Linked DNA regions of Homo sapiens: regions 1, 2 and 4 are each linked to region 3. Evidence: promoter capture Hi-C in human tissues and cell types (Jung and others, 2019). All regions are on one chromosome and are shown on one strand. The core of a region is centred on a gene start or on the middle of the fragment in contact, and the rest is flanking DNA. Distances in the headings are between cores, read along the strand shown. Region 1 overlaps DZANK1 (double zinc ribbon and ankyrin repeat domains 1). Region 2 overlaps SEC23B (SEC23 homolog B, COPII component). Region 3 holds the start of DZANK1 (double zinc ribbon and ankyrin repeat domains 1). Region 4 has its middle 9.3 kb from the start of ZNF133-AS1.

Region 1 (2,893 bases), core at 279-2,778, 70 kb after region 3:
GCAGAACCCAGGATGGGAAAGGTGGGTGAGATGAAATTTCCACTCCACAAGTGTCCACGGGATCAGGCTGAAGGAACCCTCCATGGACTTTGCCTGAAACTGCATCTTGCCTGGCTCCTTTCCCTTTCCTGCTCTGCTTTCTACACTTTCTTACTCTTCTGCCTTGTGAGCTCTGCTCTAATAAATCACTTGCACATGAATATTGTCTCAGAGTCTGCTTCTGGGGCACCTGACCTAAGACAATAAAATTCTGAACATCTCATGCTCAGATGTCACATTGGAAATTCTAACAGTCAGAATGAAAGGTCCCAGAACAATTTAATCCATCCAGATCGTGCACTTAAATCATACACTGTTAATATATAGCAATAGTGACATAACAGCTGCCATTTTACAGTGCACCCAGCATCAGCATTGTATTCATCATTCTTGCCTTCACAGCAAACCTGCAAGGGAGGTGTATTACCTTTGTGATCACTTTAAAAAAAATAACCACAAATTCCTTGACTGTCTTCCCCTCAAATGGTAGAATCTGTGTCCCCTCACCTTGAATCTGGGCGGGTCTGTGACTGTTTGACTAACGGACTATGATGGAAGTGATGCCATGAGACTTCCAGGGCTTGGCCACATAAGGTCATGTGGCTTTCTCTTGCTTGGCACACTCACCTCCAGCACTTCTTGGAGCTCAGCCACCCTGCTATGAGAAGCCCAAGCTACATGGAGTGGCCGCATGTAGGTGCGCCAGCTGAACCCAGTCCTCGAGTCATCTCTGCTCATGAGCCACATGAGTGACTAGACTCTAGATGATTCCCGCCCCCAGACATCCAACCACCTCTAGCCATTTGAGTCTTCCAGCTGAGGCCTCAGACATGTGGAGCAAAGACAAGCTATCTCTGCTATGCCCTCTCTGAATCCATAGCATAATAAAGTGGTGGTGGTTTAATTTCACTAAGTTTGGGGTGGTTTTTCACACCGCAGTTGATAGTCAGAAGAAGCCTTATTTGACACCCAGGAATTTTGAAGCTCAGAGAGGTTTGGTGACCTGCCCAAGACTACACTGCTGGGTCTCATGGGGTTCAAGATTTGAAGCAGATCTGTCGGACCCTGTCAGAGTCCCATGTCCTTTCTTTGATACTACATTGCCATTATAAAAAGACAGCTCTGTGAGAGGACCTTTCCTCTGTTTGTCGCAAGACTAGAAGGAACTTTATGAAATAGGCTGTGTACTCTTCTGCTGCCAAATAGGCCAACATCAAGACGATCTCATTTTCCAGTATTACCCAATTTCCTTTGATAATCTATTTTGGTAGTTTATGAATTTCTTCAGCCTAATCCAGAGATCTGCAAACTGTGGCGGTTGAGACAAATCTGGCCCGCTGCCCAATTTTATAAATAAAATTTTATTGGATCACAGCTGCACCCATTCCTTTACTTATGTGGCTGCTTTGTGCTATGACAGTAAAGTATTCACAATACAGAACATATGGTCCACAAGACCTAAAATATTTACTATCTGACCCTTCATGAAAACATTTCTTGTCCCTTGGCTTAATCTAAATTCCTATTGCTACTTACACAGAAAGCTGCTCAACTGTGATACTTGTCCCTTAATTACCAAGCCCTGTCCCCGCCCCCTACCAGGATATCTTTTCCAAGGTGATAACATCTAGTCATGTAGTTTGATTAAAGTGCATCTCTTGAAGAATGCATAGATTTGGATCTTGCCTTTTTATTCAATTTGGCAGTCTCTTTAGAGTAGTTTATTTATAATTAGTAGAGTTTAGATATGGTTGGATTTGGATCTGCCATTTTGTTCTTTGTTTTCTATTTATCTCGTCTAGTTTTTGTTGCTCTGTTTTTCTTTTCCTACTTTCTTCTGTGTTAATTAAATATTTGGTTAAATTTAGAGTTTGACATCTCAGAATTTGTACACTGTTACTTAAGGCAATGAGTCCCACACCCACAGTTATGAATTCTCTCTACAACTCTTTTAAAAGCTTATCTCTGCTACTGTCCACGAAGATGGTTGTGAAGTTAGCATCAGACTGAATTATAGTCAAGTCTCAAACAAGGTGAGTAAGCCTCCAGAAGTTATTCATTTGAGAACTGACCGATTAGTAAATTGAGACAATTTATAGAAATGCTTCTGTGTAATCCATAGAAAGGAAAAGTTTCACACATTATGAAATGCTACTAGAGGCAAGCAATTTCATAGAATTAGATAAACAAGTTAAACCTCAGACAGGCACATGAAGATATAGTGAGAACAGGAGTTGTTCTGTAGTTCTCAGGCTTATTCAGACTCACTGAAGTCTGATGGCATGTCTGTGATATAATTGATTTGGGGAAAGACTAACAAAAATATTTGCTGATATGCCCTTTGACATATTTTCTTCTATAAAATAAACCAAACTTTGTGGCCATGTGTCCTTGATCTTCCCTTTTATATGGTGACGGGGGCATTGCCACAGAGCCTGTAAATGTGTTTCAAACATTAATTGATTGACATTAGCAGCTTTAGTTTCACTGGACAAAAAGTCAGAATAATTAATCAATCAATTGAGAAGCCAAGGAAAAGGAGGGAAATTAACATTTATTAGGCCCTGGCAAGGTGCTAATGGTGTTGTTGAAATTGGGATAGAAGCATGGGCCCTGTCTAACTCATGGGGAGGCTGGGAGTATCTAACGAGCTAATGCACATGAATGTGCTTTGAAACCAAATAAAGCACTAACTGCTCTTTTTAATTGTTGTGACTAGAGCAGAGCTTGGGTCAGAGAGGAACTTCAGGGGAAGGGAAGTGAGAGAAGCAGGTCAAGGAAGGGGAAGGGACTGAATGAGCAGGTAGACAAAAGCAAAGTTGAGCTTTAGCCTGATCCAAGGGGAACTCTGGAG
Region 2 (2,972 bases), core at 234-2,733, 70 kb before region 3:
CTGCACTCCAGCCTGGGGTACAGAGCGAGACCCCGTCTCAAAAAAAAAAAAAAAAAAGAAATTCCCAGGTGGGGCGTGGTAGCTCACACCTGTAATTCCAACACTTTGGGAGCTGAGGCAGGCAGATCACTTGAGGTCAGTTCAAGACCAGCCTGGCCATTGTGGCAAAACCTTGTCTCTGCTAAAAATACAAAAACTAGCCAGACATGGTGGCTGGCACCTGTAAGCCTAGCTACTCGGGAGGCTGGGGTGGGAGAATGGCTTGAACCTGTGAGGTGGAGGTTGCAGTGAGCCAAGACCGTGCCTGGGTGATAGATCGTGCCTGGGTGATAGAACAAGACTTTGTCTTAATTAAAAAAAAAACAAAAAGAGAAGAAACTGCCACAGCCACTCAGCCTTCAGCAACTACTAACCTGATCAGTCAGCAGCCAACAACATCAATGTAAGACCTTCCACCAGCAAAAGAGTATGACTCACTAAAGGATCAGATGAGCATTAACATTTTTGAGCAATATAGTTGACCCTTGAGCAACACAGGTTTTTTTATTTATTTATTTATTTTTTATTATTATTATACTTTAAGTTTTAGGGTACATGTGCACAATGTGCAGGTTAGTTACATATGTATACATGTGCCATGCTGGTGTGCTGTACCCATTAACTCATCATTTAGCATTAGTTATATCTCCTAATGTTATTCCTCCCCCCTTCCCCCACCCCACAACAGTCCCCAGAGTGTGATGTTCCCCTTCCTGTGTCCATGTGTTCTCAATGTCCAATTCCCACCTATGAGTGAGAACATGCGGTGTTTTTTTGTCCTTGCGATAGTTTACTGAGAATGATGATTTCCAATTTCATCCATGTCCCTACAAAGGACATGAACTCATCGTTTTTTATGGCTGCATAGTATTCCATGGTGTATATGTGCCACATTTTCTTAATCCAGTCTATCATTGTTGGACATTTGGGTTGGTTCCAAGTCTTTACTATTGTGAATAGAGCCACAATAAACATACGTGTGCATGTGTCTTTATAGCAGCATGATTTATAGTCCTTTGGGTATATACCCAGTAATGGGATGGCTGGGTCAAATGGTATTTCTAGTTCTAGATCCCTGAGGAATCGCCACACTGACTTCCACAAGGATTGAACTAGTTTACAGTCCACCAACAGTGTAAAAGTGTTCCTATTTCTCCACATCCTCTCCAGCACCTGTTGTTTCCTGACTTTTTAATGATGAGTAACACAGGTTTGAACTGTACAGGTCCACTTATATGTGGATTTTCTTCTGCCTCTGCCACCCAAGACTGCAAGACCAAACCCTCCTCTTCCTCCTCCTCCTCAGCCTACTGAACATGAAGATGAGAGTATGAAGACTTTGTGATGTTCATTTCCACTTAACAAATAGTAAATACACTTTCCTTCCCTTATGATTTTCTTAATAACATTCTCTTTTCTCTAGCTTACTTTATTGTAAGAATACAGGACATAATATATATTACTTACAAAATATGTGTTAATCAACTGTTATCGGTCAGGTTCCCAGTCAACAGTGGACTACTAGTAGTTAAGTTTTGGGGGAGTTAAAGTTATATGTGGATTTTTTTTTTTTTTTGAGATGGAGTCTCGCTCTGTTGCCCAGGCTGGAGTGCAGTGGCACGATCTTGGCTCACTGCAAGCTCTGCCTCCTGGGTTCACGCCATTCTCCTGCCTCAGCCTCCCAAGTAGCTGGGACTACAGGCACCCACCAACACACCTGGCTAAATTTTTGTATTTTTAGTAGAGACAGGGTTTCACCATATTAGCCAGGATGGTCTCGATCTCCTGACCTCATGATCCGCCCGCCTCGGCCTCCCAAAGTGCTGGGATTACAGGCGTGAGCCACAGCACCCGGCCGTTATATGTGGATTTTTAACTATGCAGTGTCAGCACCCCAACACTACTCAAGGGTCAACTGTAAAGTATTTTTTTAATCCAAGAATGAACAATGTTTTCAAAGACATAATGCTATTTAACACTTAACATACTATAGTGCAAACATAACTTTTATATGCAATAGGAAACCAAAATATTCATGTGACTTGCTTTATTGCAATATTCACTTTATTGTGGTAGTCTGGAACTGAACCCACAGTATTTCCAAGGTATGCCAGTAGAGTAAAATGTTAATTACAGAATCAAGTTGATGGGTTCACCTAGGTAGTACGTGTTCACCGTACAATTCTTTCAATTTTTCTGTATGTTTGGAATTTTTCATAATAAAATATTAGGGAAAGAACCGATGCACTAAAAAATTCACCAACATTATGATGACTGGTAAAATCTATTACACTTCTAATGACCTTATCAGTTCAACAATAAAAGGACAAAAGTAATTTGTTGCCTGACTCCGACTAAACCCTTGAAGGAATAAATAAGAAAAGGTCATGCCAGACTATCATCAGGCCTAATACAATACCCAAGGAATATTGGTTTGTGAAGAAAGTAACCAGAGACCACTGGTTTGAGATAAATCACAAAACAGGACACTAAGACATGAAGACATGTGAAGAAATCCAACTCACCTGATTGACAACTTCAAAATAGATGCCAAGTGTAGATGTAGGATCTAGGCCACAGATTTTCCACTGACTCGTGCCACCAACACCAAGCTCCTGGGGGTGGGAAGAGGAATTTGAAAAACAAAACCAGAAAACCATCCCTGTGGTTAATTGCTAATGAAAAGTACTGACTGAGTAGGGCAGGCTACTTAGAGTATCTTCTTTTAGGAGAACATTTAAGTTGAAATAAAACCTTCTCCTGAAAAGAGAACAGATGAAGGCTTAACATTTACATTTACACTTTAAAATTAAGCTTTTTATATTAACATTCTGACCAATTTTTATTACATCATATATACTATACATATATATTATTTATGTTTATTTATTTTGAGATGGTCTCTCACTCTGTTGCCCAGGCTGGAGTGCCGT
Region 3 (3,089 bases), core at 1-2,500:
CATGGTGAAACCCCGTCTCTACTAAAACATAAAAAATTAGCTGGGCGTGGTGGCGCGAGCCTGTAGTCCCAGCTACTCGGGAGGCTAAGGCAGGGGAATCGCTTGAACCCGGGAGGCGGAGATTGCAGTGAACCGAGATCGCGCCACTGCACTCCAGCCTGGCGACAGAGCGAGACTCTGTCTCACAAACAAACAAATAAAAATAAAAGTGGCAGAGGCTTTGGGTGTCCTAAAAGTCTTGAGTTCAATACTGCACTGAAACCACCTGGCTTAATGTTACTTCGTAATCACCAACTGCGCCCTAACTCCGCCTAAACGTTTTGTCATAGACGTTCCCTTAGTGACAAGAGCGATCCTGGATCAGAACATGTATTCACAAGTGTTCTACAGGGAAAGAAAGCCGAGGGCTCCTCTCAAAGCACTGATCGCGTCAAAGTAGGAAGGCAGCACGTCATCACAACTTCCCCAAAAGTATCAGGGCAAAGCCAGCCAGCTACACAAAGTTGCAAGCTGTCAAACCCATTTTGAACTTCTTGAGTTCTGCTCTCCCAGGATGGGAAGGAACAAGTGGGTCCAGAACCCCGCAATCGTTTTTCCCGCGTGCTCACCTAACCCGCTCCGGCCACTCCCAAGGGATCCCGGAGAAGGGGTCCAGCTGCCCAAATGACTGGGCGCCTGATGGAGTGCCAAGCCGGAGCCTCACTGGTTTACCTGTTTTCTATTTCGACCGGATCCGCGTCAGGCGGCTGCACCTTCACCTTCACCTCCGCCATGAGGGCGCAGTTCCTGACGCCTGGGGGGAAAGATGCACGGAGCAGCCCGGTAGCAAGCCGGGGAACCCGGGGAACCAGTGGAGGATAGCGCTCTGCTGAGGCCGAGGGGCCTTCTTCCTCGTGTCGCAGCCGGTCCTTCCTTGCCTTTCGGCGGGAGGTGGCCAAGCTGCGCCTGCTCCGGCCCACTTACAGGCGCCGCTACAGCTTCTTATTCTTGTTTTCCAGAATGTCAATGCCCATCGGACGCACAAGCCTGGTTCCTTCATTCTGAGTTGGGAAACCAACTTTTAGCACTTGGCAACTCTGTGAAGGAATATTCTTAGATGCCTATGGGAAAGCACTGGGAAAGGAACTCCAGGCGGGTACCAGGCTCCCTGCGGAGCGGCAGGGGCCGGTCTAGTTGCTAAGAAGCTGAGTCTCCACCAATCATCTGCCCAGCACCCAGTGGGCGGGGCGCGGCTCGCCGCGTCTGTGGTAACCCGGGCGGCGGCGAAGGAGGAGGCAAGAGGCGGTGAGAGGCTGGCGACTGGGTTGGGCGCGGCAGAGATGCATTAGGGGTCCCGATCCCGGGCCCCGCGGTTAGAGGAAGAGGAGGGCGGCTAGAGGAGGGGAAGAGCTTCCCTTACTCCAGCCGAAAGGATGCAGGTGTCCTTGGCAGCCCCTGATGGGCGGGAACAACCAAACGGGATTCCGGATCCGGGCTGCGAGGGGGCGGTCCACGTTGGGAGAGTTGAGGGGTCTGGGGATCCTGTTGACTGCACGTTGCCATTTGGGCCTGGCGGATCCGCCTTTTTTCTTGATTCCCTTTGCGTGGGGCCCACTGGCCACCCCAGCTTCCTAAGGGCAGCTGCTAGTTGACGCTCGCGAATTACTTCCTCTCCTACATATTTTTTATTTAGAATTTTTCAACTACTTTTATTTTATCTGCCTTTCACTTAAATGGAAATGCGACTATGGGCAAGTCTCAAGTCCAGCCACACTCCCGTAGGAGCTATTGTTGTGCTGTCAGTATCTGTAGTTTATATTCTTGGCCCTAGATCCGGAACTATCCAACAAGGCATTAAGTTCACCCCTTAAATTTAGGTACCCCATTTTTGAGAATACAGTCTGTGACAAAGCTCAAACTGCAGACATGTTCAGATCAGCATTATTAGAACTGCAACAGGCAAAACTAAAAAGAAACTAGAAATAGCCTAAATGCCCAGCCACAAATGGATAAATAAGTACAGGGAAAACTAAATAATACAGTGAGAATGCAAGAAGTAGACTATAAAAATGGAATGAATATGTAGATTATAATTGGGCAAAATCTATGGATTATTAATGAAATTTGAAAAGGCAATACAGAGATGTAAATGGTTGTTGTGTTAAGGTGAGCGTTTTTTCCCCCTGAAACCTTCTGTGCATTAATTATGACAACCTTCCTCCCCACCCTCACCTCCAAAAAGACCAGTAAGGCTTTCATACTGGTAGTTAATTATTAATACCAGGATTTATAAATACAGTAGATGAAACGGGAGGCTTGTGTTTATTGGTCACTGTTTATATTCTTGCAAACTTCCTTTCCACTGAGAAGTAGTACTCTGCAGTCCTTCTAAAGTGTCTTTGCAGCTTTCAAATACTAGAACTGCTCTGGTGATAATGGCAAGGCTGTGAACCCGGAGCTTTCCCAAAAAAGTTAGCTCTAACTAACATTTTGTGGTACACACAGAATTACTTCTGTTCCCCTTGTATGATGACTTGCCCTGAAGCCAAGAGAGCTGACACACACCAGAGGCAGGAAAAGGCGATAATGATTTACAGGGAACTCAAGTCAGAGCGTTAGTGATAGTCTCTGTTTTGCCTTACTCATTTAATTTGTCCTTTTAAAGTAACTTCTTTCTTTTCCCCATCTCATTCATTCATGCTCCTTTCGCAGAAGTGAGGTATTTAGATAATCAAAACCCCACACAAGACCTCAACAGCAAATACAGATGAAATGTAATTATTATTTCAATTAAAAAGGGAATAATATTTGTAGTGCCATGTTAACAGTATTCTCTCGTTTTAACTAGTTTTGCTGCATTTAAATTAAGTGCTGCTCTTCAGCTTTTGTGTACATTGGAATTTATATGTATATATATATAGAGAGAGAGAGAGAGAGAGAAAATGACTGCTGGTTCAGTGTGTGTCCCTCAGATCATACCATTACGAGTGCCTCAGCCTGGAAAAGCTAACCATGAAATTGATAACAATACGCTTTTGGAAATGAAATCAGGTAAGAATCACATATGTTTGAAATTGTTTAAAATAACATTGTCATATTTCTTGTGTTAT
Region 4 (3,288 bases), core at 38-2,537, 98 kb after region 3:
CAGGCCCCAGTGTGTGATGTTCCCCTTCCTGTGTCCATGTGTTCTCATTGTTCAATTCCCATCTATGAGTGAGAACATGCGGTGTTTGGTTTTTTGTCCTTGCAATAGTTTGCTGAGAATGATGGTTTCCAGCTTCATCCATGTCCCTACAAAGGACATGAACTCATCATTTTTTATGGCTGCATAGTATTCCAAAACAATAGCAAAAACTTGGAACCAACCCAAATGTCCAACAATGATAGACTGGATTAAGAAAATGTGGCAAAATCTTTGCCCACTTTTTAATAGAGTTGAGAGGTTTTTGTTGAGTTGTTTGAACCTCTTGTAAATTCTGGATATTACTCTCCTATTGGATGTATAGTGTGCAAATATTTTCTCTTGTTCTGCAGATTGTTCACTCTGTTGATTATTTCTTTTGCTATGCAAAAACTTCTTAGTTTAATTAAGTTTCATTTGTCAATTTTTGTTTTTGTTTCCTGTGCTTTTGATGTCTTAGTCAGGAATTCTTTGCTTTGACCAGAAAAGTTTTCCCTAGGAATTCTTATAATTTTTTCAGTTTCTGCTTTTATATTTAGGTCTTTAATCCATCTTGAGTTTTTTTTTTTTAATTTTTGAGGCAGGGTCTTGCTCTGTCACTCAAGCTGGAGTACAGTGGCAGGATCATGGCTCACTGCCATCTCAACCTCCTGCCTCAGACTCCTGATTAGCTGGGACTATAGGCTTGAATTTATTTTTGTATATGGTGGGTATTAGGGAGTCTAGTTTCATTCTTCTGCATGTGACAATCCAGTTTTCCCAGCCACATTTATTGAAAAGGGTGTCTTTCCCCCCAGCGTATGTTTTTGTCAACTTTGTCAAAGATCAGCTGGCTTTAGATATGTGGCTTTATTTCTGGGCTCCTATTCTATTCCATTCATCTGTACATTTATTTTTATACCAGACCATGCTGCTTTGGTTAGTGTAGCCTTGTAGTATAACTCAGGTAATGTGATGCTTCTAGCTTTGTTCTTTTTGCTTAGGTTTGCTTTGAATTCAGGCTCGTTTTTGGTTCTAGACCACAAAGACAAGCAGATTAAGAAAAAAAAACCCACAAAAAATACTAGATAACAATTAACATTATGTCAGGAATGAAACCTCACATATCAATATTAATGTTGAATATAAATGGGCCAAGTGCTCCACTTAAAAGATACAGATGGGTAAAATAGATAAGAAAAGCCTGCACCAACTATATGCTGCTTACAAGAAATTAACCATACTGATAAAGATGCTTATAAACTGAAGGTAAAGAGATGGAAAAAATATTCCAAGCAAATGGAAATCAGAGGTGAGCAGAAGTAGCTATACTTGTGTCAGATGAAATGGACTTTAAATAAAAAACAGAATAAAAAAAGACAAGGTCTTACATAATGATAAAAGGATCACTTCAACAAGTGGATAACAATCCTAAATATATATGCATCTAACACTGGAGCACCCAGAATCATAAAACAAATATTACTAGACCTAAAGAAAGAGATAGACAGCAATAAATCATAAGCTGTGGGGAGGGGATTTCAATACCCCACTCACAACACTAGACAGATTATCAAAACAGAAAATTAACAAAGAAACACTGGACTTAAGTTGGACTTTAAATGGACCTAATAAACATTTACAGAACCTTCTACCTAACAACTGCAGAACATAAATTCTTCTCATCGGCACATGGTACATGCTCCAAGACAGACCATGTGTTAGTTCATCAAACAAGTCTCAATACATTTTTAAAAAAGAAATACCTAATGTAGATGATGGGTTGATGGGTGCAGCAAACCACCACGGCACATGTATGCCTATGTAGCAAACCTGCATGTTCTGCACATGTATCCCAGAACTTAAAGTATAGTTTAAAAAATTGAAATTGTATCAAGTATCTTCTCAGACCATAGCAGAATAAAACTGGAAATCAATACCAAGAGGAACTTGTGAAACTACACAAATACCTGAAAATTAAACAACACATTTCTAAATGATCTTTGAATTAATAATTAAATTAAGATGGAAATTTTAAAATGTTTTGAAACAAATGAAAATGGAGACACAACATAGTAAAACCTCTGGAATACAGCAAAAGCAGTGCTAAGAGGAAAATTTATAGCATTAAATGCCTACTTCAAAAAAATAGTTCACTCTGTAATCCCAGCACTTTGGGAGACCAAGGCAGGAGGATTGCTTGAGCCCAGGAGTTTCAGATCAGCCTGGGCAACATAGCAAGACCCTGTCTCTAAAAAAAAAAAAAATCACGAATTAACAACCTAGTGTCACATCTCAAGGAACTAAAAAGAGCAAGAAGAAAGCAATCCCAAAGCTAGCAGAAGAAACAAAATAACAAAGATCAGAGCAGAACTAAATGAAATTGAAACCAAGGAAATTATTCAGAAGTAGAGAGGTATTAGTTCATTCATTAATTACCTTGATTAAAAAAAAGTTTAGCAGACATTAATTCAATATTTATTTATTTTAATTTTTATGAGTGTCAGTTCCCAGGCCCCTGATTTAATGGGTGGTGATAAATGGCTCAGTTTTTAAATTATTCCTTCCCAATGTAGTGAGAGCCTCAGAAATTTTACTACTGATCCAAACAATACTAACAATTTTTTTCCTCTCCACCCTCAACCTCCACTTTCTCCCCTGTATCTTGCCTCTCCTCAGCAGAAACTTCCTCCCTGCAACCCCATCAAACAGAGAAGAGAAAAAGGGGAAATTTGGGATTTGGGGAAACCTTTCCCAAACATGATTAAATCTCCAGCAGGGAGAGGCATTCTTGAACTTGATTTTATATAAATCAAGCTTGATCCACACTCAAGCTTGATCCACAATCCCACTGCCAGCTGTTGTGGTGTTTTAATTATTTCTTCTTGCTAGTTCCATCCTCAAATGTTCTTTCCCTTTTTCTCAAAGCATGAAAAAAGAAACTGATGAAATCTGGGCACTTATTCTTTCCTTTTCTGAGTAATGCCAAAGACTCTCCTTGACTAAACTTTAGTTAGGCTCATCTAAGCCCTCTAGGCCTCAACCTTGGCTTTCGTCCTTCTTGGGCCTGCATTGCTGAGTTTTAGTGAGAATCTTGCTAAGTCAGTTTAGAGAGATATTCCCCACCCCTCATACCTGATCACTCTCAATATCCAATCAAATTCCTCATCCTCCAGCATCCCCCAAGTAATATGTGATTATCCTGGCCTGCCTTCAGCAAGAATCCTGTTGAATCTGTTTAACCAGGAGGCCCCTTTCCTCTGATGTCTTCTT

What was found. Contacts are between HindIII fragments. The study calls those that stand out against the background at their distance.
Region 1: a fragment that was not itself captured here is called in contact with the fragment with the promoter of DZANK1 in region 3 in 3 of the 25 tissues and cell types used here (IMR-90 fibroblasts, liver and spleen).
Region 2: a fragment that was not itself captured here is called in contact with the fragment with the promoter of DZANK1 in region 3 in 5 of the 25 tissues and cell types used here (H1 embryonic stem cells, heart left ventricle, liver and 2 more).
Region 4: a contact is called between a fragment that was not itself captured here and the fragment with the promoter of DZANK1 in region 3, in 9 of the 25 tissues and cell types used here (H1 embryonic stem cells, IMR-90 fibroblasts, heart left ventricle and 6 more).

The regions. Positions count from the first base shown.
Region 1 is chr20:18,395,651-18,398,543 of GRCh38, reverse strand. DZANK1 (double zinc ribbon and ankyrin repeat domains 1) reads left to right here. Exons shown (of 21, transcript NM_001367614.1): 14 at 1-21; 15 at 1,998-2,072. The region is part of intron 1 of LOC124904877 (a long non-coding RNA gene); the gene reads right to left. Among named protein-coding and RNA genes, the nearest start is that of LINC00851, 18 kb to the right of the region's middle. The HindIII fragment of the contact is 4,316 bases long and covers 1-2,893 here.
Region 2 is chr20:18,535,335-18,538,306 of GRCh38, reverse strand. It overlaps SEC23B (SEC23 homolog B, COPII component), which reads right to left. Exons shown (of 20, transcript NM_006363.6): 12 at 2,565-2,654. Among named protein-coding and RNA genes, the nearest start is that of SEC23B, 29 kb to the right of the region's middle. The HindIII fragment of the contact is 5,606 bases long and covers 1-2,972 here.
Region 3 is chr20:18,465,191-18,468,279 of GRCh38, reverse strand. DZANK1 (double zinc ribbon and ankyrin repeat domains 1) reads left to right here and starts at 1,250. Exons shown (of 21, transcript NM_001367614.1): 1 at 1,250-1,284; 2 at 2,903-3,030. The coding sequence starts at 2,922. It overlaps POLR3F (RNA polymerase III subunit F), which reads right to left and starts at 890. Exons shown (of 9, transcript NM_006466.4): 1 at 712-890. The coding sequence starts at 773. RefSeq lists enhancers at 810-1,129, 752-1,370. The HindIII fragment of the contact is 23,548 bases long and covers 1-3,089 here.
Region 4 is chr20:18,366,895-18,370,182 of GRCh38, reverse strand. No RefSeq gene overlaps it. Among named protein-coding and RNA genes, the nearest start is that of ZNF133-AS1, 9.3 kb to the right of the region's middle. The HindIII fragment of the contact is 8,499 bases long and covers 1-3,288 here.